Regions from separate parts of the Homo sapiens genome. Here all the other regions are linked to region 3. Evidence: promoter capture Hi-C in 16 types of primary human blood cells and fetal thymus (Javierre and others, 2016). All regions are on one chromosome and are shown on one strand. The core of a region is centred on a gene start or on the middle of the fragment in contact, and the rest is flanking DNA. Distances in the headings are between cores, read along the strand shown. Region 1 overlaps SPAG17 (sperm associated antigen 17). Region 2 overlaps SPAG17 (sperm associated antigen 17). Region 3 holds the start of TBX15 (T-box transcription factor 15). Region 4 overlaps SPAG17 (sperm associated antigen 17). Region 5 overlaps SPAG17 (sperm associated antigen 17). Region 6 overlaps SPAG17 (sperm associated antigen 17). Region 7 has its middle 38 kb from the start of SPAG17.

Region 1 (3,291 bases), core at 42-2,541, 860 kb before region 3:
CACTGCCCTAAAGAAATACCTGAGGCTGGATTATTTATAAAGAGAAGAGGTTTAATTGACTGACAGTTCTGTAGGCTGTACAGGAAGTAGGGTGCTGGCATCTGCGCAGCTTCTAGGGAGGCCTCAGGAAACTCACAGTCAACTGTGGGAGTAGACACTTCACATGGTGAAGGCAGGAGCAAGATGGGAGTGTGGGGAGGTGCCACACACTTTTAAACCACCCGATCTCATGTGAACTCAGAGCAAGAGCTCACTTATCTCTAAGGGGATAGCCCAAGCCATTCATGAGGAATTCAACCCCATGATCCAAACACCTCTCACCAGGCCCTGCCTCCAACAGTGGGGGTTATATTTCAACATGATATTTGGGTAGGGACAAATATCTAAACTATCTCGTTCTGAAGAATGTCATTTGTATTTTGGTAGAGATTGCATTGAATATGTAGACTGCTTTGGGTAGTATGGTCATTTTGACAAGATTCATTCTTCCAATCCATGAACAAAGGATATCTTTTCTTTTTTGTGTGTCTTCTACAGTTCCTTTCACAGTGTTTTGTAGTATCCATTGTAATGATAGTTCATCTTCTTGGTTAAATTGATTCCTAGGTGGCTGGGCACAGTGGCTCATGCCTATAATCCTAGCACTTTGGGAGGCCAAGGTGGGTGGATCATGAGGTCAAGAGACTGCGACAATCCTGGCCAACATGGTGAAACCCTGTCTCTACTAAAAATACAAAAATTAGCTGGGCATGGTGGCGTATGCCTGTAGTCTAACCTACTTGGGAGGCTGACGCAGGAGAATCGCTTGAATCCCGGAGGCGGATGTTGCAGTGGGCCAAGACCGCACCGCTGCACTCCAGCCTGGCGACACAGCAAGATTCCATTTCAAAAAGAAAAAAAAAAAAAGATTCCTAGGCATTTTACTTTATTTTTGTGCAGCTGTTGCAAATGGGATTGCTTTTTTGATTTTTCAGCTAGTTTGTTATTGGTGTATAGAAAAGCTGATTTTTGTATGTTGATTTTATATCCACCTTTACCAAATTTATTAGTTCTAAAAGTTTTTTGTGAAGTCTTTAGGTTTTTCTATGTATAAAATCGTGTCGACTGCAAAGAGGGACAACTTGGTTTCCCATTTTCCAATTTTGATACCCTTTATTTCTTTCTTTTACTTGATTGCTCTGGCTAGGACTTCCAGTACTATGTTGAATAGAAGTGGTGAGAGTGGGCATCCTTATCTTGTTCCAGTTCTTAGAGGAAAGGCTTTCAGTATTTCCCTGCTTCGTAGAAATGACTCAGGCTGGCAGCCACCTCCATTTTCTACCTTCCTTCTCTTTAAATCTTAAATCATTTTCCTAAAAATCCTGCTTTCAGTCTGAGACTAGTGATTGAGACCCTACTAGTTACTGACTGACTCATGCTGCCTGCTTAGCTATCTGAATATGGCTGGTCCCTGAACTTCCTGCACCCCAACACTGGAGCACTAGATGTGTTAATTTAGCCTTTGGTTTGGATACCATGTTCCACTTCTCAGACTAGAGGTTGCTGATTGCTCCTCCATCATGTCACCTTCCTTCATAGGAGAATCTGACTTTTTTTCAGGCATTGCCCTCTCTCTCATTCAGCTCATGTGACTCAGGGGAAACACAGCTCCATGGGTGGGCCCCTTCACACTAAAAATAATCCTAACCCCCCTTGTCCATGATTGGTTCAAGAGGTGCATGTGATTTTGTTCAGGCCAGTAGAATGAGGCATGGTTTTCTGGGGCTGCTTGATCTGGTTTCCTTGGTCATGACAAAGCTCTGGGAAGAGTCTTAAGGGATGAGATTGCTGCAGCCACTTTACCTTCTTCGGGAAGCTGAAGCTCCTACACAGATGAAGGAAGGGGTAAGAGCACAGCAGGGAAGTGGGCTGGAGCCCCTGAACTAAGCTGACCTTGAAGCCTGCCTGGACTTCTACGTCTGCATGCCAGTACATTTCCTAATTGTTTAAGCCAACTTTAATTTTTGTTGTTGTTAACTTAGAAGATGAACAAATTGATACTGATATGGAGAGATTTATGCCTTCTAATTAATAGAATTTTAAAAATTAACCAGACAATACTAAGATGTGTTTCCCAGACTAGCAGCATCAGTATCACCTGACAATTTGTTAGAAACGTAACTCTTGGGCTCCAACGCAGACCTGCTGAATCTGAAACTCTGGGGGTAGGGCCAGCAGTGTTTGCTTTTAACAAGACCTCAGGTGATTCTGATATACGCTAGATTTGAGAACCATTGTTTTGTACCTGGTTTCTTATGTGGCCTTTCATAATAATGTATTTAGCCCACATATTGTCAGTTTCACCCTTGCCCTTGCTAACTCTCAGTTATGCATTTATATTTCCTTAATTTCTTTCTCCTCCTCCTCCCCCTGCCCATCCTCCTTCTCTTCCTTCTTCTTTCTCTACCTTCTTCTTCTTCCTCTTCCCTTCTTTCTTTCTTTTCTTTCTTTCCCTTTCTTTTCTTTCCTTCTTTGTTTTTTTCTTTTTCTTTCTTTCCTTCTTCTTCTTCCTCCTCTTCTTTGTCTTCTTCTTCTCCCTCTTCCTCCTCCTCCTCTTCCTCTTCTTCTTCCATTTAGACTTACTAAGCTGCCCCTTTCAGAGGACAGCCTGGAGTCCTGGAGTGGGATTTCTGCTAATGTCCTGCTAGACAAAGAATGTATTCAGTGTATCAGCCCTGTCTTCATTTACCCTAAGTTCTTGGTTTCTCCACAATTATCAAAAAGTTGTAGTGTTTCTCCAGCTTGATGTGGATGATGTTCTAGGCTGTTGTTAATTTCTAAGTATTAATCTGAATGAAATCTGCTTATAAAAGGGCTTATTCCTTGAATTTCCTTGTCCTCCCCCTTAATCTCTTTGACTTGTTAGTTAGCTCTAGGAGGCATACAGGGTATGTCTCCTGGCTGACTACTGGGAAAGCCCTTAATGAGCAGATGGATGCTGCATAGTTTCCCATAGGACAGTTTTCCTCCAGTGTATGCTGTGTGCCACCTACCCCAGAACCTCTGGGAACCTAGTTAAAGATATGGGTTACCTGGGATCTACCCCACAACTATTAAATCAATCTCTGGAATTGATTTGGGCCTAGTAGTATGACATTTTAATAAGCTTTCTAGGGATTCCTAAGTACTTTTGAGTTTAAGAATTATGCAAAGGTCATTTACATATTGACACTGGGGTGACCAACTCTGGGGTTTTCCAGGGATTGAACTTTCAGTGCTAAAACTGGGATAGTCCCTGGCACCCAGGACAGC
Region 2 (3,026 bases), core at 256-2,755, 920 kb before region 3:
AAAGCAGAAGGATAAATGCTAAATGACTTAGCAGAATACAGAAAGCCAAGTCCTAAGATTAATTTTAGGAGAGACCACAGGCAACCCCATTTGTGTGCAGAAATATAGAAAGTCTCAGGATATGGAAATACTAGTCACCTCTGCAAGTGGGGTGAAAGTGGCACTGAAAATAGGAAGATTAGTTTAAAATCTTTTTAAGAAGCAGTTAGGCCCCTGGATTCCATTAAAATTCTGAGCAACTGGGCTATTGCCTATCTCCCACTCTAGCAGAGGGGAAGAGGGTAACTACAGATGGTAGATGAATGGGTTCTAAGAACAGTGGACCCAACGCACACTGACAGAGAAGTACATTCTAGAAAAAAAGGGAATTGTGTAAAAGCCTAAATCAGCACTGCTCAATAGAAATATAAAGTGAGCCACAAATGTGAGCCACATGTGCAATTCTAAATTTTATAGTAGCCACATTTTAAAAAGTAAAAAGAAACAAGTAAAATAAATGTTAATGATATATTATATTTAACCTGATAGATAAAAATTCTTATCATTTCAACATATAAACAATGTAAAAGTAATCAATGCCACCTTTTTAAAGTCTTGGAAATTGAGTGTGTAATAGCACTTATATAGTGTATAGCACAGTTATTGCACATCTCAATTTGGTCTAGATTCATTTCAAGTATTCAGAAGTTACATGTGACTAGTGGCTACCACACTGGATAATGCAGATCTAGATAATAAATGTCAGAAGCTTAATACCCTTCCCTCATTACCTAGCTCTCAAAACACTGACAGGAAGGCTTATGTCTTTCAGACAGAAAATTAGACTTTTTTTTTTTCATGGAGAATTTAAATGGCCCAAGAAAACAGAACTGACATACCAACAATGGTGAGTCTCCTATGGAAATCTCCCAGTCAAATCACCCAACAATGAACTCAGTTATTGACAACCCCCCACCCCACCTCATATAGCACTTCCTATCATATTTTTATTGTTTCATTATTAATATGAGCAAAGAGGACAATATTATATATTACCCTCCAATGTGAAAAATGAAGACGAAACAAAAAAGACAAAAAATGAGAAAAGAAACTTGGAGGAAAAAGAGATAATTCATGGAGAAGACAACTTCAGAGGACTTTAATATCCTCATAGAGATAAGAGAAGGTATTATATCAGAAATGCAGTGGCTCACACCTGTAATGCCGGCACTTTGGGAGGCCAAGGCGGGTGGATCACCTGAGGTCAGGAGGTCAAGACCAGCCTGGCCAACATGGTGAAACCCCATCTCTACTATAAATACAAACATCAGCCAGGTGTGGTGGCAAGTGCCTGTAATCCCAGCTACTTGGGAGGTTGAGGCAGGAGAATCACTTGAACCTGGAAGGCAGAGGTTGCAGTGAGCCAAGATCATGCCACTCCAGGCTGGGCGACACAGCGAGACATCATCTCAAAAAAAAGAAAAAGTGAAATGATTCTTTAAAAAGGTAATTTGAAATTATAAATATAACTTTAGGAAATCAGAATGATAATAACAGGAATAAAGGGCTCAATATAAGAAATGAATGGAAATTGAGCAAAGCCAAAAGATAAATTGATGGAAACTAAAAGAAAAAAGAAAGGGAAATTGCAGGTTCAGTCTAGCAGGTCCAACACCAGAGTAATAAGATTTCCAGAAAAAAAAGGACAGAGAAAATGGAGAGGAGAGATTATCAAAGAAATGATTATAGAAAATTTCCCAAAATATAAATACAGGAATTTCTGGATTGCACCGGCTTGCCAGAACAATACATAGAAACAGAACCACACAAAGGCATATCAACAGGAAATCAAGAGCATTGGAACAAAGAGAAGATCTTAAAATCTTCCAGGGAGAGGATCACAACATACTCAAACAACTGATTAGGAATCAGAATTGTATTTATTTATTTTTCTAAGGACAATCTGGGAAGTCAGAACACTGTCAAAAACTGTCTTTAAAGTATTGAGAAAAAATGCTTTTTAATTTAGCATTTACTATAAAGCCCAACTGTCAGTCAATATAAAGATAGAATTAAGCTGTTTTCAAATATTGAATGCCTCAAAAATTTACTTCCCGTCTATCTTAATTAAGGAAGCTACTGGAAGAGATGATTCTCTACAAAAAAGAGAGTAACCGGAGAGGGAACACATGGGATGAAGGCAACAGGTATCTAACTGGAAAGGAAGGGAATGGGTGTGGCCCGGATGACGGTAAAGGGAGGCCCAGGACCACAGCTGTGCAGCAAGCTTAGGGAATATGGGAGAGATATCACTAATACAATAAAACTAATAGAATATCTGTTATGTTTGAATGTATTGAGTGACTTACTCAGTAGTAGAGAATTTGGGGATAAGTTAATAATAAATACATAGTAAACTAAACAAATAGAAAAAGAGGCAATTATTAACTGCAGAGAAAATAAAAATGGTACCCATACAGGAAATGTAATTATAGAATACCACACAGTTCAGCTGTGAATAGCACTTACATAACTGAAATAAAGTGAGTTCTGAATACTTATCTAACCAAAAATTACGATATTGTTAACAGTATCAGAGAATGGAGAAGTGCTAATGTGAATGTGGGGGTGGGTGAGCCTGTACCTGTACATGCACATGTGTGTTGGATGGGGGTGGGCAAAGCTGTGTTCTCAAGAGCGAATCAATTGGTAATGATGTCACAAAACTAAAACTAAACAAAATATACTTGCTATTTAGAGATCACCGAGTAAAGTAACAAAAGAAAGGGGTAAATGCACTGAAGATTTTTGCCTCTGAGAACTGCGGCTTGGTGGAGTGGGGTGGGGATGGGGGAAGGAGGCTGCTATTTTTCATAGTAAGACTTTGTAGAACTTTCTGGCTTAAAAAACGTTGTAAAACTTTGATAAAAATAAAAATCAAATTAAAAAGACAAAACCAAAAGAGGACAAGTTTTTGTGTAAAAGCTAAACACAACAAAAGGATTTAGGTTTGGGATTACTTGTTATTTTGCTGAGTGGTTAAGAGT
Region 3 (2,925 bases), core at 426-2,925:
GCTCTGGCTGTTCAGCAGGAGCACCTTCCAGCATGGTTTTAGAAGTCCGGGCTGGAAAGCTTCTGAAACCGCTAAACCAAGTTGCGAGCGTTGTATGTGCGCGCGCGCACACTCAAGATTCTTCCGACAACAGCTGTTCCCCCGGGCTGTTTTTGCACAGTTGAAATCTTGGCACTTAACACAAAACGTTAAAGTTGGCTTCTCCCCTCCTAGGGTTCTGTTAAAATACAGACATGACATCCCCCCTGCTTTTTACATGTTCCGTGCACATAATATACATGGGTTACTGTAGGATCTGAGACACAAATCAATCGTACCCACACCCTAAATACACAGAGATGTGGGCCCTGAAGAGTGACCCAAGGAGTAAGGGGTCTAACATCCATTCTTGTTTCCGTAAACGCCAAAGGAGTAGAAATATAATTATGTTCCACCATCGAAAAGTTGGTGGGAGAAAGGCAAGGACGAGGTTGAAGGCTAAATGAGACAACTGGTCATTCCCCGAAGACTGAGGTATTGGATTGGAGAACGCCGCGCCAGTCCTCCCGAGTTCTCAGAAGCGAGTCCTAGATCTCGGCTCCCGCCGTTGCCTTCGGCCCGCGCCCCTCCCAATCCCAGGGACCGGCAGCCCTTCATCCACGGACACCCAGAAAGCTGCGCTCTCCACCCAAAAGAAAAAGAAATGCAAACAAACAGGACTCCTTGCTTAGGCTGGCGACGAAAATGCAAGGCTCAGTCCAGCCCCAAAAATTGGTTCCGGTGAATTTAGGGAGGCTCAGGGCATTTGCGCGAAGAAACAGAAACCTATGTTGGGGCAAGGCAGGGCGTCAATGGCAGGGCCTAGCTCCTCACCCGCGACCGGCGACTGGCCCTTCGGCGTCCCCTCTCCGCCCGCCTCCCGCGGTCGGCTGCGACGCACTCACCCGGGTGAGGCTCCAGGCCGTGTGCCGCCGCGTCCTCCGTGTCTCCGAGTGGGCCCGCGGGGCTCAGCGCCTCCATAGACAGGTCCAGCCCCTTCTCCTCCCAGTCTCGCAGTTTCCGTTTTTTATTTGAGCCGATCAAGGCTTCAACGGAGAAGGCATGTGCTCGCGAGCTCAGGGCGACTGCAGATCTTCTCCTTTCACTCATTTTAGCCGCCCACACCCCTGCCTCCGCTTGCCCCCGCTACCGAGGGAGCAGCCGGCGCCCTCAAGCTCTGAGCGCCCACCGGGCCCGGCCCGGGAGAGGCGGAGGCGCGTCGGACGAGGCTGAGACTGCGGCTCGCGGGTCTCTCCACCCTCCCCCTGCGTCCTCCTCCGCCCTCCTCTGCCGGATCCGACCTGCGCCCCTACGCTGGCCCAGCTGCTAGGAACTAGCGCCCCGAGCGCCGCCCGCTCGCTGCATGAGCGCCCGAGTCCTGCTTCCCACCCACCGGGGCAGGCGCTCACAGACTGTGTCCACTGAACTTCATCTTGTTTTTGTTATTATTATTATTCTCTCTCCTCTCTCTCTCTCTCTCTCTCTCCCCTCCCTCTCTTTTTCTCTCCTCCCCCTCTCTCTCTCTTCCTCTCTGCCTTCCCGTCCTCCCTGTGATCCAAACTTCTGGGAAACTTTTTTTTCCGCTAAATTCCTCCCTTCCCGAGGAACAGGGGGCAGGCGGTGCGCTCCTGTCCGAGGGGTGAGGGAGAGGGAGGGGGAGGAAGAAAAAGACTGAGGGGGAAAAAAGCCAGCCCCCAACCAATAGCGAGGAGGGAACAAGAGAAACTCCGAGAGCGCGAACCAATGAGAGGAAGGGAGAGACTGAGGCCCGGGCCAAAGCGCAGCGCCAGTCGTCCCCTGGATGCTCCTGGGCCGACTTTAACCCCTGGCTTCCCGGTTTCCCCATGGGTTACTCCAAGAGGGAGGTAGGACAGTTGAAAGTTGAGGTCTGATCTGCGCCTTTACAAACTCCTGCAAATCCCAAATCCATACGTTTTTCTTCCAGATCTGCTGGTCTCATAGACGCTGCAAGTCCAGAGTCACTTTAGTTGCAGATCTGGAATTTTGGGGCTCTGACAAAATGTTAACCTGTCCAAAATGCCAGAAAACGATTCTGATAATTTCGCGTCAGCCCCTAGGTGCTTTAGAATATTCTGGTTCCTCCTGGATTTCGCCACACAGGTTTTAATGTTCCTACTGAACGTTTTCTAAGCAAATCTGGGTAAGGCAAAAGGAAACAAACAAACAAGCAAACAGAAAGCCCTGTTACTAACCAGGGTCTTGTAACTGAAAATTCAAAGACCGCTTCCTCCTTCCAGCTCTACCTGGTGGAGAAGGAGACACAGGCGCCTTGAGAGCAAGGGGCGGGCGGCGGAGCGCGGGGTTTAGGGCGAGCTCCTCAGGCGTATTCCAGCTGGGCCCCCTCACGCCGCAAATACTCTCTTTCCCTACGGCCCGAACGCTGGGCTGCGCTTCGCCTGTTCCGGGCTCTTGTTGCAGAGAACCTATGGAGAGGTGACAGGCAAGAACAGCTAGGAACTTTAACAGAAGAGAAGGAGCTTTTTCAAAATTCCCTGCAAATCCCGTTACCTCAAGACCATGGCTTTCCCGGCCAGCTGATCTCCCCCCTGGCCGCCCCCTGCCTTTTGCGATCTCTAAGGACTGCATTCAACATGGATTTCTAAGGAATTAAAAAATCCAACGCTCCTGGCCATTCTTAATTCCCACACCTCTTCCCAAGTTACGCCACCGGTCGAGGACGGCAGGAGACCCCCGAGTGCAGAGAAAGCTCAAACCGGCAGCGAAGTCGGTCCTAGCCAAGCTGAAAAAACGTCTCGGATTTCGCGGACAGCGGCCTAGACACAGCCCGATCTTCCAGTCCTAGTGCCCTGGTCGAGACGGTTCTATCCTTTTGCAAAGAAGCCGGAAAGAGCTGGGTCCCGGGGGCGGGGGACAGACTGAGAGGCC
Region 4 (3,252 bases), core at 391-2,890, 830 kb before region 3:
GAGCAGTGCCAGATCTTCTAGGGAGCTGAGTTTGTATTATGCTAGCAGGGAATGATGGGAATTTCTCCAATAACTCCCTAGGGGTGTGTCAGAAAAACTATGAGACTGTAACTTGAGCAAGAATAGTGTCAGGGAATCTGTGCCCTACCTCAATTCAACAAAAATGAGTAGTCGTGCAGCTCAACAAGCATTTATTACATTAGTATGACTAAATGTATATGATGTAACAAACTAAGGGATACACAAAATGACTAAGATGGGAGTGTGAAAATGAGCAAACAATGCTTGTATCATGAAATAAATTTCTAGAGACTATTTCTTGTAAAGGCTATTTAACATCAGTGGCCCTGACTGGGTTTTACTGAGGGAATTAGTGTCCAGAGCTGGAGCTGTGCAGTAATCCTGACTTCTCCAGCTGCTCAGGACATAGCAATTGTGCTAGGAAAGTAAAAGGCAGTGGAGACCTGTCATAGGGTAAGGAAAATGAGGTCAGACCTTAAACAGACAAGTGGAGGGTAAAAGTATTAATCAAGATCAATCAATCCTAGTGGGAGGGAAGATAAAATTGTGGAGGGTGGAGGTGTCTGAAGTAGTTCCTGAGATCTTTCTTCTGAGAATGCTTGTAACTTTCTTTAGAGTTTCATGCAATTATCATTTTTTTTAATAGGGAAGGTTTTTTTTCTTCTTTTTTTTAGACGTAGTCTCGCTCTGTCGCCCAGGCTGGAGTGCTGTGGCAGGATCTCGGCACACTGCAAGCTCCGCCTCCCGGGTTTACGCCATTCTCCTGCCTCAGCCTCCTGAGTAGCTGGGACTACAGGCGCCCGCCCCCACCTGGCTAATTTTTTGTATTTTTAGTAGAGACAGGGTTTCACCGTGTTAGCCAGGATGGTCTCGATCTCCTGACCTCATGATCTGCCTGCCTCGGCCTCCCAAAGTGCTGGGATTACAGGCGTGAGCCACGGCGTCCGGCCAGGGAAGGGTTTCTTAGGAGGCAAACAAGAAGGACAGGTGAAAGAGAACTGGGGGGAAGGTGTCACTAAAGCCAGGGGAGGAATGGTGTATGTAGTCAAAGGCAATTAGAAGGTCACTGCTGACCTTAGCAAGAGCAGTTCTACTTGAGTGAAACTGCTTCCCACTCATTCCCTCACTTGTGTAATCCTACACACCCTCATAATTCACATATCTCCTTCATAATATAAAACCCCTTTAAGGACCACGTGACAAAGTATCCCCAGTCAATGATTAGAATAAATTTCAAGCCCTAGATCTGGTTATGGTTCTTAATTTTCTCCAATTACACAGGTACATGGAATCTATTTATTGGATACGTTAGGGCAGTAATTCATTATAATTATTCCTCTCATATTGATTCCCTAATAGAGTCCTTACAATAGCTCTTTCAATGGTGTAATAAAAAGAGCACTGGATTTAGTATCAGAAAACCTGATTGTTAGTCCTGATTCCAACCACATGGCCTTGGAAAAACATTTAAGTACTCACAACCTGGACCTTAGCAAAATAATAATAATACTTAGAGCAGAAAGTCCTTCATTCATTCAGCTAATATTTACTGAGGGGTTACAAAAATTGAAATGGGCATGGCATTGGGAATAGGCATAAGGCATAATCACTTCCCTTAAACAGCATCAGCCTGGGAAGAGAAATACACAAAAAAGGTGAAAAGAGATTACATGTAAACGTATTTCGCAGCTATGAAGCACTGTACAAATTGTTCATTTCTATTATCATATTGTTCATCCAAATGTATTTACTAATAATTAATATTTACTACGTGGGTACCTACGTTGCATGTGCTGCCCTAGAAATGAAGGATGCAAAATTGAATAACATGGAGCCCAAATTGTTTCATATTGTATTAACTAATTCTGCAATTTGTTTTTTTTCCTTCAACATTATGTTTTGATGTCTATCCATGTTGAGATATACAGATTTAGTTCATTTATTTTAATTGCTCTTGTCTTATTTATGTTTACATCCTTTATTTCTAGGGCAGCACATGCAACATAAGTACTCACACAGTAAATATTAACTATTAGTGAAATCATACAATAAACAATACTATATGTTATTCATGAATATAGATAAATAGATACATAGGCTAAGAGGATATGTATTCCATCCATATTAGTGTTTGCTTCTGAGAAGAAAGAGAAAGAAATGGAACATAGAATGGGGGTGAGGACAAGAGTTCTTCAGCTTTAATTTTACAGGTTTATTTCAAAAAAGAAAATAATTTTTTGTGAGGGTACAAATGTGCTTGCCACATTATCTTTTCGTGCTTTTCTGCATTTAAAAAAGTACTGAAAAAAAGTGTCTGCTCTCAAAAGACCAACAGTTTAGTAGAGGAAACAGATATAGAAACACTTATAATACAAGGTGATACGCATTGACCTAGAACCCATCTCTCCCTGTGTCTTAGGAAAAGCCTCACGAGCAGAGGTCACTTGAAGAATTAGTGGAAGGAATTCTTTGTCCATGTCCTGCTTGTCCACTGTCTGTCTATGTGGTGACCTCATTCCCACTGCCTGAGAAGCACAAGGTTTTCCTGCCGCGGTTTCCTCTCCTTTTTACATTTTCCATCTGAAAACATCCTTCACTGGCCCCAAGAACTTACTCCTTTTTGTTGGGCTGAAGAAGACATTCTGATTCCTTCTTCCTTTTTTTTTTTTTTTACTAGAGCAAATGACCTCTTCTCTAACTGTGTTCCTTCAATTTTCCCATCTCTCCCTCGCCTCGCCTTGTTTTCAATCCACTCCTCTTTCCTCTCTATCCCTACTTCACACATACATGGCCATCTTCACCTAAGCCCAGACTCCCCACTAACCATTTTCCCTTATGACCTTTTTACTTCATAGTCAAACTCCCCCAAACATGTGACCTACACCAAAAGCTCCCACATCCTGAAAGGCCATAATGTCCTTAATCCCCACACTCCCACTACACTTCTTCCCTCACCACCAGCACCACCACCATACACCCTATTGAAATTGCATTCTGGAAGATCACTGATTATGTCCTCATTACCAGATATGGTTGCCTTGCCTATTCTCCCAAGGTGTTTGTATGTTGGGGACTTGAATTGCCATTTTGTGACCTTCTCTCTAACTTGACTCTTATGACACCACCCCGTTCTCATTCTGTCTTTATTCCTTTGGCTGTTCCTTCTCTGACCATCAGGCTCTTTCTCTTCTTCTGTCCCATAAACAAGGACCTTTTAGGTATCCCACAGAA
Region 5 (3,114 bases), core at 223-2,722, 840 kb before region 3:
CACTCATCGAAGTGGCTTAAAAGCTCCAACTGAAATTATTTGATCTCTTCATCATCTGCAGATATACCTTCATGTTTTTGCCTGAGTAGAAGGAAAAGTAATAAACATATCATAGAACTACTGAGAGATTTAAAGCTTAATTCTAAGTAACTAGCAGTAGCTTATATTGAAGACATATTAAACCACAACAGTCACTTCCAGAATTTAAACTATTTATTCTCAGCTTGTGTGTGATGCAAGTAGAAAAAACAGACTTCTGAATCAACAAGTTACCTAACCAGTCTGATTCAAATTTCATCATTCATAGGTATCTGAAAGGTTGTTAAGATGGTTAAGTTAGCCAGGTGCAGTGGTTTACACCTATAATCCCAGTAATTGGGCTGGCAGGGGCGGGAGGATAGCTTGAACCCCAGGAGTTCAAGACTTACCCAGGCAACATAGCACGCTCCTGTTCCCCACAAAAAGAAAAAAGCCAGCCAAAAAAAAAGAGATTAGGTTAGTTGATATATATGAACTACCCAGCACACAAGACTTGGAATACATGTGTTCAATAAGTGGTAACTTTTATTATCACCATATGTAATTATTGATTTTTCACAGTTTTAAATACAGAAACAGAATGATACAATCTTCTTGATTCCTTCCCCAGCACCCCTCCAATCCTGGTGTCTGTAGAGTATAGGGTGTTAAGAGGTTTCAGAAACCACCCCAGCCCAGACCTGGAGGAGAAGCTGTGATGACTTCTCTTCATTAGCTGAACCTCACTTTATTCTTGTGGCTGGCCCTCCACTGAGGTCTGTCTTGGAACTCCTGATGAGATTCCTGCCTTGCCCACTGCCTGCAGGTCCTAGCCAGCAACCCAGTCCTTGTGTGGCATGGGCTTCCTGCTGCTGGATCCCCGGCTCCACTGCATCACCACCACACCTCCCCAGTGTCTACCTCCCCTCTCCTGGACTGCTAACTATTTGCCACATGGGCTTGGCCAGCTGCCTGACCCCCAGGGTGGAAGAGAGCTGGGGCATGATTTGAATTGTTTTTGAATGCCTTTACTTGAGTTCTGCTTTTCTTTGAAAATAGAACTCCAGGTTTCTGATCTGGGAGGCAAACGTATTCACACCCTGGGAGCCCATTCCTAAAGCAATGGAGCCCTGACCTTCTGCCCCTCAGTGACTAGCTTGAACTTGACTTTCTCTGCTGAGCTGCTTTGGTGCCCTCCAGAAATGTGGGGGCCCAGGGCTGTTAACACATCTGACTGCTCTTTTCCCCATCTTGACAAAAGTCATTCATTTGTAACTCTTCATAGCCCTTTGTAACCGTTTCTAGCATTACTATTTCTCCTCTTCTTTCCTTCTTCGGGTAAGAAATGCCTCCAAAACCCAGATTTTGGCACAAGAACTCCTAGATTGTTTTTATAGTCCCAACGTAGCACTTCTTTGTTACAGCTTGATATTCCCAAATTTTGTTCCAAGTCTCATTATTTTACATTTATAAATATCAGGTTGTATTAATTGGTTCCAGCTTTAAAAAATGTTCCATCAGGGGTTATTTCTGCTATTTTGATAGTGGTTTCTAAATGTGGAGTGCCGAGGCCCTGGTGTGGGCCACGTTCTGTAGGCATCCCTGAAGGACTGATGTGGAACGGAAAGATCCGCAGATTCTGAGTCTTGCTGTATTCTTTGAAGACTGTACTGGCCATAATAGCTTCAAAGAATTTCAACAAGTTCCTAAGACATGACCTTCCCTTTCCGAAAATCACGTTGGCCAGGCTTGCCTTAATCAAGCTGTGCTTTTCTAAGCATCCTTTTACTTGATCTCCTGCAGCAGTTTTTAATACTTTTCCTACAAGTGAAGTTAAACTAACTGGCCTGCAATTTCCTGGTGTGTCCCTAAGCTCTATGAAATAACGGCATTAGGTTGGCTAGCTTCCAATTCTTCCAGAATTTTTTTGTTTTGTTTTAAAGCGCGGGATTGAAAAGGCCAGAGAATGCTTCCTGTCTCCCTTTTCCTTCGTTTCTTCCATGACATACTGCTCTCTCTGTTCCCAGTAGAGCTGCCATTTTAATAACTTCAAACCTCTTAAATGTTTTCACATATTATTTGTACCTATCTCTGAAGCATGAGTTTTCCATTTTTCATTCTGACAAGGGCCACCCCCAATATAAGGGCTTACAATTCTATTAAATTGACTATTAATTCAAGGCACTGTTTAAAAAATGAGTTTCATATCAGGAATCTGAAAAAGAGTGGCAAAATAGATTATAATTAAGCCTGTGTTCTCACTTGTCAATTACTAATAAATACATGTTGGAAAAGACCTGAGAAAAATTTCTATACATCCAGGAAACAGAAGTCAAAAAATGGAACTATTACATCTGGGCATACTAATCTGAGGCACTAGCATAGTGTCTTAAAGTATGGTGAAATGCATTAGATCTGAAGATCTAATTTGCATTCTACATTTTATTAAACTGCATTTGGTCCATTATTTTTAAATCTAATATCAGAAAAATCTTTCCACATTTGATGGTCTCCCGGTTGCAATAGAAAGGCCCGTAGAAATATTTTAAGATATATTTGTTAAAAAGTTATTTTAAAAATTATTTTCTTAAAAATATGAGAATTTTTTTACTGACAGGAGTAAAAAAAAAATTAATAATTATTTGCATTTACAAAATTGCACCATATCACATAATGTTTAGGATAGTTCAAGTTCTTTATTGTACAGAAACTTGGAAAATTGTTTTGAAATAAGTGAGTCATCAACTAGAGCATAAGAACTTTTATTCTTTATAGACAATTTTTGTTTCAGTAAGCTTTTCATTTTTTTTATTTTTCATTTTGTGATGACCTAATGCGTCTTTTATAAATAAGTCACAGGCACATAAATCACGGCCCATTTGTGTGGATGAAGGCTCATTTCCTGGTTGGTAGGCATGGTGACCACCATCATGAAATGAAAAGAAACATGAAGTGGAATTTAAAAACTTTTAGGATGGTTGGTTCTGATTTCAGATAAATTGGATAAGTAAACCCCTATCAACTAGTAGCTTTTTCTGATTTACCAAAGTGATAATGTCAAACCTAAAATTTGCACATTTATCCCATAAAGTTCAC
Region 6 (3,046 bases), core at 473-2,972, 880 kb before region 3:
CAAGAAATCCTCCTACCTCAGACTCCCGAGTAGCTGGGACAACAGCTGCATGCCACCATGCCCAGCTAAAAGTATTTTTAAAGAGGACCCTTATAAATCCTTATTTACTTCTGTAAATAACTTTTTCTTATAAAAATTATTACTAAAAATTTGGAAAAAAATATAAAGAGCTTACAAAAGCCACCACAATTCTACCACTTGGGGAAGATGAGTGAAGAAGATGTGCAATGCATTCTTTTGAATTAACTTTCTGCATCATTTTTACATAACTGTTATTGTTCTCTCTATATAACTTGGTGTCCTGCATTTTTCCATTTAACAGTGTTATATCTTCAGTTGGTAGAATATGTATTACTATGTAAAGAATTTCCTGGGTAAAGAAAGGATTCTCTGGTGCAGAGAAAATATATGTAGACAATAAAACTGAATGGAAGTACCTAGGTCTTCCTGGGTTCCGGATCCAGGTCGAGATGTCTTTGGTGGATTTTTGAACATGTTCTTTACCCTACCCAGTGCATTCTGCTCTCTCCCCATGGCTGACCATAATGGTGGTCTACTTATTCCTCTCCTGGATTCAGTCTATCCCTCACTCCTCCCATCCTTCATACTGAAGTTGAACCAGGACAGTCTCTTTGTCCCTTTAATTCTGGAGAGTGATTGACTGGTTGGCCCCTAGAATTCTACCTTGGTTTCAAAGTGAAATATCCTTTTGTACCAAGCCCCAATCATAGGAAAATCATTTCCTATCTTTCATTTCCTTTTTCTCACATTCTGAGTAAACCCTTCTCACTTATGGGTTTATGTCTTGAAATCTGGGAGTGGGAATGGAGTTAACCAGATCAGGCGCATTCAGCAAAGCTGACCCCCTAAGTTATAAACTCAAGTTAGTTCATACAAACTCTTTCTCTGGCCTTTCTTGCTTCTGGATAACATGGCATGCATGTTCCCATACTAAGGTCATTAGCTCACAACTTTAAAAATTCAGAGGGAACTCTTGTCAATTCAAGGCAAATTTTAGGAGGGGCATATCCAAAAAGTGCCTCTCTCCACGATGTTTGAGGAACACATGTTCCCCAGCATATGAAGGAAGAGTCAAGTTTGCCACAGATTACTTTTTTTTTTTTTTAATGCAGTATGTGCAGAAAGCATCTAGATGCCTCCTACTGTGAGACGGCTTTGGATAGGCACAGAGATTTCTTAACCGGTTAAGTTACATAGCATATGTGAGATTCTTGTCTCAGCAATAACCAAAAAAAGTGTTGGCATTTCACATATTCAGTTGAATATAAAGTGACACCTATCTAGAACACTTAATCTTAAGTTATTCTCACTTTTTAAAGGGAAAAATAAAAAATTCTCCTTCTCTATAATAGGGCAACCTAGTTATTGGATGCTTCAAAATATTTTAGATCATATTTTATTTCTAAATGACTTCTTGATGTCAAAATTCAAATATAATTAATAAGTATTCATTCTCCTAATTCCTTACAATGAAAGGAAGATAAATGGTAAATGTCAGTGAAACTGATGATATATATCTATACTTCATCTTATTCTTTTTTTTTTTTGAGACGGAGTCTTGTTCTGTTGTCAGACTGGAGTGCAGTGGCGCGATGTCAGCTCACTGCAACCTCCGCCTGCCAGATTCAAGCGATTCTCCTGCCTAATGTAGGCTGGGTGTGGTAGCTCACACCTGCAATTCCAGAACTTTGGGAGGCTGAGGTGGGTGGATCACCTGAGGTCAGGAGTTTGAGACCAGCTTGGCCAACATGGCGATATCCCATCTTTACTAAAAAAAAAAAAAAAAAAAATTAGCCGGGTGTTGTGGCACGCGTGCCTGTATTCCCAGCTACTTGGGAGTCTGAGGCAGGAGAATCACTTGAACCTGGGAGGCAGAGGTTGCAGTGAGCCGAGATCGTGCCACTGTACTCCAGCCTGGGCAACAGAGTGAAACTCTGTCTCAAAATAATAATAATAATAATAATAATAATAATAATGCATATACATATTCATGTATAACAATGTTTCATATAAAATTTATAATAAGATCCTCAGAATAGTATTGTTGAGGATATAGATAAGAAAACATACTCACAGAGTTTGTAACTAATTCACTCTATTATGTAGTTTATGAGAAACTGGGTTTTCTGAGTGTTCCTCTAGTTCTCTTTCAAGATATCACCCTATCTCATAAACAAGCTATCATAGGGGACAAGAGATAGGCTAAACAAAGGTATAAGATCACATAAATTTGAGAGACCGTAGGTTAAACAATATTAAATATAGTGGTTTTCACAAAACTCCTTCATCTTTAATTAGCTATTATGTTCTTAAATATCTTCAAGAGTTGTATCTAATACACAGTGATTTCCATGCTCATTTGACCAGGAGCCATTTTTTCTTTTTTAAATGGAGAACTAGGTCTAAGTGGCCATAGGGCTCACTTTGAACATACAAGGTTATGGGAACATTTTTAAACATTAATCCAATTTAATAAATCTATGCTAAGAATATTATCCAAAATATGGAGACTTCTATACTGCAAAGTACATGGTTTATTATGAAAAGAAATTGAAATAACTTAAATGCTCAATGATAGAGAAATGGTTAAGAAAATTATGATAGTCAATAAAACATCACAAAACCAGTAATAATGATAGAGTGGACACTGTGATAATGAGTAGAAATTATAATCTATCTTAACTGAAAAAGGGGTGCATTTTTACAATGATTACAGCTGCGTAAAGAAGCAAATCCCAGAAAAAAACAGAAAGAAAAATGCCAAAATCTTAACATTAATTATAATAGGGTTACACATTGCAAATGTTTTGCTTTTCTTTCTCTGTATTTTCTATGTAGTCTATGAAAGACTTTAGTACTAGATCAGCCAATGCTATCCTACCTTACCATGCAGAAGGACATTAGGAATAATCTCTGGATGTCCAGTTTTAAGAGATTCCCCCAGAGACTGAGCCATTTCTGCGTGGGGGGCAGGACTGGAAATTAAGTCAGGATTTCCTTTGGAATCAGTGGCTGGTTAGCTCAG
Region 7 (3,050 bases), core at 371-2,870, 770 kb before region 3:
GTCTGTATTTGGATCTATGTCAATGACTTAAAAATTTTAAATCCTGCGATAGTAGTGACTTTACAGTAAAAAGCTCTTTTAAGACTTTTCTGAGCTCACTTGAGCCAGCATTCAATTTGCATTTCTTTCTTTTCTTTTCTTTTTTAAAACATAATCTGAATATAATCTTAAGGAATATCTTAATCCCTCTAAGACTCTTTAGAACGGTGTTTTCTAGGCTTTGTGGACTATTGGCCAGTGTAAGAATTGCATTTTCCCTTATGTATATAATCTATGTGCATATGCACACACACACACACACACACACACACACACACACACACACACGAGGTGACAGTTTTTGAAAATAAGGCTTACCTTTATACCTGTGATGCTCTGCTAATTTCTACTCTATTCTAGTTTGTGGAAAACAATGCTGATCCAGGAACCACTGAATATATTTCACAGCCTCAAATGAATCGGAGCTGGCAGTTTAAGAAATAAACTGCTCTGGAGCAGACATCAAAACAAAGCAAAATAAAAACAAACAAAAATGCACATAGAAACCAGTTATTATAAATATGTGAATTTGCCTGGATATGACAATAGTTAGCCTGTGGATAAATTGATAAAGTATATAGTCTTTGTAAGGCTGTTGAAAAAGTCTTAAAAAGGAACAACAAAAATTACAACAGCAAAACAAAACAAAATTTATTGTGTAGGCTTCATAAAGCTAGTCTGGGCCTAATTTGACCCATGGTCAGTTGGTTTGTCACTTCTGTTCTAAAAGGCAGAATGCAATTGAAGATGTTTTAAATGAATTGCAATGGTCTTAAATGTGAGAGTTTAATTTTACTCTAACTCACTGAGTTACCTTATCTATCTCCAAATTCTTCTCTTTTTAGGCATATTAGCAGAAATTTTTCTGAATGACAGGAGACATTTGACCTTTCAATAAAATAGAAATGATGATATTAAGTTTCAGGTGAATTGCATGGATCAATTTATCCAATCAAAAGTCACCCTCTGACAATTTTTCTATTGAATGGTATGTGCATGTGTAATTGTTATTGTCATAATTATCTTATTATTATTTTATGTGTAGCCCATGTTTGAAATTATTTGAAATTTCAATATTTGACTCTTTTAAATATTAAAACATATTTTCTTTCTTTTAACGTTCAATTAGTGTTACACTTGACCTTAAATTCTGCTTTCTTATTCCCCATATACACTTAGAGACTGATTTTTGTTTTGCACAGAAATAAATTTTAACTTAAAATAATTTCCACACCTACTTTGTTTAAAGAAGAGCTACGAAACATTAAATTTAATTTATGAAGCCTTCTATTTGTGTTCCAGTCCTCTGCACATACACACTGTGTTAATGCTATGTCTCTATATGCCAATGACATTAGAGTTTCTGGCAAAACTCAATATGTAATCAATTATCACCTGTCATGAATGACTTTTAAGATCCAGCCAGATATTTTGGAAATACCGCTTAGTTCCACTGAGAAGGAAAGTCTCCCTCTGAAAGTGGTATGGCCCTCATCTTTAAATCTCTTATTCAAAGGCATTTGGACAACTTTCAGTTTAAGTCAATGTGCAATAAAGTCCAGCAACTTACATCTTAAAAAAATAGAGTTGTAGCTATTTCAAAATGAGTTCAAGAGTATGTTGTTGCTTAGAAATGATAACAAATCTTAAATCATTTTTTCCCTCTATAGGGGAGCACAAGAATCTTATATGCACCAGTTACAGGCCAATGCCTTTTTTTTTTTCCTTTCTCTTTAATGCTTGTGTTGGTTTCAAACTCACCAGTTAAGAAGAACTGGAATCTGCCTCCTAGGATTCCAATAGTGTGCTTTCTTTTCCTTTTCTTTTTCTTCATTGATTCTCTCAGAGAAAACAGAAATCAATTATTATCCTGCCAGCTGGAGAAAATCACTGATATCCAAACATAATGGCTTTTCTAGGCATAGCATATATACACATTTGGAGGTCATGGTCTTATCTACAGTAGATGTTCAACAAATGCTATCAAGAAACGAACTCCCTGAACAATCTGGATCTTAAGTAGGTAATGTAAGGCCACTTTCCCTAGTTTTAAAAAGCTGCAGTAAGTTAGTTTCCTGGTGATCACATTGCTCGGTGGGCTCTTTGAAAAGTATTGCATCTGCGCATGTTGATTCCCTATGTTTGAACTTGGATATCCTCATTTCTGAAAGGTTGGATTAGGTGGTCAGATGATGTCTGCCAGTTTCAACATCTGAAATGCCTCTAGTTAGACCCTCTAGCCTGCCTTGAAGGGAACAGGCTTTCTTAAACCTCCAGGGGGCAGCCCCATACCAGTTGTTAGGAGAAATAGGATCAGCTCATTGGGAGGAAGAGGATAGACCTTCTGTCCCTTGCTCAGGCAAACTATGCGTGGACCACATAGAGCTGCTGTCATGGAAATTTGCATGAAATACACAGCACCTTTGATGGACTCAGCCTGGGGTGGAGTGAGTGTGGGGCATAGAGGAGCTGCTTTTATTGGTGACTAAACTGTCAAGGTTGATAGCTGTAAATCTCAGTTCCACCACTTGTAGATATTTTCAGTGAGACCTAGAGAAGAACAGGTGTTTGTGGCCACCAAGTGACCACAGGTGAGAGATTAGAGTAGTAGATTCACAGTAATCTGTTTCCCTGGGTTTGAGGGAATAAAAACTATGTATATTCATTGTGTTTGTATATGTATGAGTATATGCTATTAAAAATGCACACTTGGGACAATTAACAACATCATTCAAATACCTGCATTGGGAATATTTGAATACCTGCGGTTCTCTTAACTGTTTATGCATCAGCTATCCACTTAAGTTGATAGTTGTTCAATAGCTGATTCTAGAAGCTCTAAGAGCCAAGGTCTTGTGAGGATCCTTGGTTTGATCCATTTTTTGCTGTATAGATTTGCCTTCCTTTCTTCAAGGAGATAAGAATGAGGATGGATTCTTTATTGATAGATCAGCAGTTTAATGCAGATTGAATTCCAAACATATTTGTTAAGCATATTCTGAGGGTGGTGG

Evidence for each region. Contacts are between HindIII fragments. The CHiCAGO score rates a contact against its expected background, and 5 or more counts as called.
Region 1: a fragment that was not itself captured here is called in contact with the fragment with the promoter of TBX15 in region 3 in 1 of 17 cell types (M2 macrophages); the score reaches 7.5 in M2 macrophages.
Region 2: a fragment that was not itself captured here is called in contact with the fragment with the promoter of TBX15 in region 3 in 2 of 17 cell types (M1 macrophages and endothelial precursors); the score reaches 5.8 in M1 macrophages.
Region 4: a fragment that was not itself captured here is called in contact with the fragment with the promoter of TBX15 in region 3 in 2 of 17 cell types (M2 macrophages and endothelial precursors); the score reaches 9.2 in M2 macrophages.
Region 5: a contact is called between a fragment that was not itself captured here and the fragment with the promoter of TBX15 in region 3, in 8 of 17 cell types (M2 macrophages, endothelial precursors, M0 macrophages and 5 more). The highest score is 15.1, in M2 macrophages.
Region 6: a fragment that was not itself captured here is called in contact with the fragment with the promoter of TBX15 in region 3 in 1 of 17 cell types (M2 macrophages); the score reaches 7.6 in M2 macrophages.
Region 7: a fragment that was not itself captured here is called in contact with the fragment with the promoter of TBX15 in region 3 in 1 of 17 cell types (M0 macrophages); the score reaches 5.3 in M0 macrophages.

Annotation. Positions count from the first base shown.
Region 1 is chr1:118,127,234-118,130,524 of GRCh38, forward strand. The region is part of intron 3 of SPAG17 (sperm associated antigen 17); the gene reads right to left. Among named protein-coding and RNA genes, the nearest start is that of SPAG17, 56 kb to the right of the region's middle. The HindIII fragment of the contact is 3,703 bases long and covers 1-3,143 here.
Region 2 is chr1:118,070,195-118,073,220 of GRCh38, forward strand. All of the region lies in intron 17 of SPAG17 (sperm associated antigen 17), which reads right to left. Among named protein-coding and RNA genes, the nearest start is that of SPAG17, 110 kb to the right of the region's middle. The HindIII fragment of the contact is 1,518 bases long and covers 747-2,264 here.
Region 3 is chr1:118,986,668-118,989,592 of GRCh38, forward strand. TBX15 (T-box transcription factor 15) reads right to left here and starts at 1,676. Exons shown (of 8, transcript NM_001330677.2): 1 at 924-1,676. The coding sequence starts at 1,128. RefSeq lists enhancers at 543-1,076, 1,077-1,609. The HindIII fragment of the contact is 3,656 bases long and covers 58-2,925 here.
Region 4 is chr1:118,160,864-118,164,115 of GRCh38, forward strand. The region is part of intron 1 of SPAG17 (sperm associated antigen 17); the gene reads right to left. Among named protein-coding and RNA genes, the nearest start is that of SPAG17, 23 kb to the right of the region's middle. The HindIII fragment of the contact is 4,228 bases long and covers 1-3,252 here.
Region 5 is chr1:118,143,078-118,146,191 of GRCh38, forward strand. The region is part of intron 3 of SPAG17 (sperm associated antigen 17); the gene reads right to left. Among named protein-coding and RNA genes, the nearest start is that of SPAG17, 41 kb to the right of the region's middle. The HindIII fragment of the contact is 2,678 bases long and covers 134-2,811 here.
Region 6 is chr1:118,107,593-118,110,638 of GRCh38, forward strand. The region is part of intron 4 of SPAG17 (sperm associated antigen 17); the gene reads right to left. Among named protein-coding and RNA genes, the nearest start is that of SPAG17, 76 kb to the right of the region's middle. The HindIII fragment of the contact is 5,584 bases long and covers 1-3,046 here.
Region 7 is chr1:118,221,221-118,224,270 of GRCh38, forward strand. No RefSeq gene overlaps it. Among named protein-coding and RNA genes, the nearest start is that of SPAG17, 38 kb to the left of the region's middle. The HindIII fragment of the contact is 3,922 bases long and covers 1-3,050 here.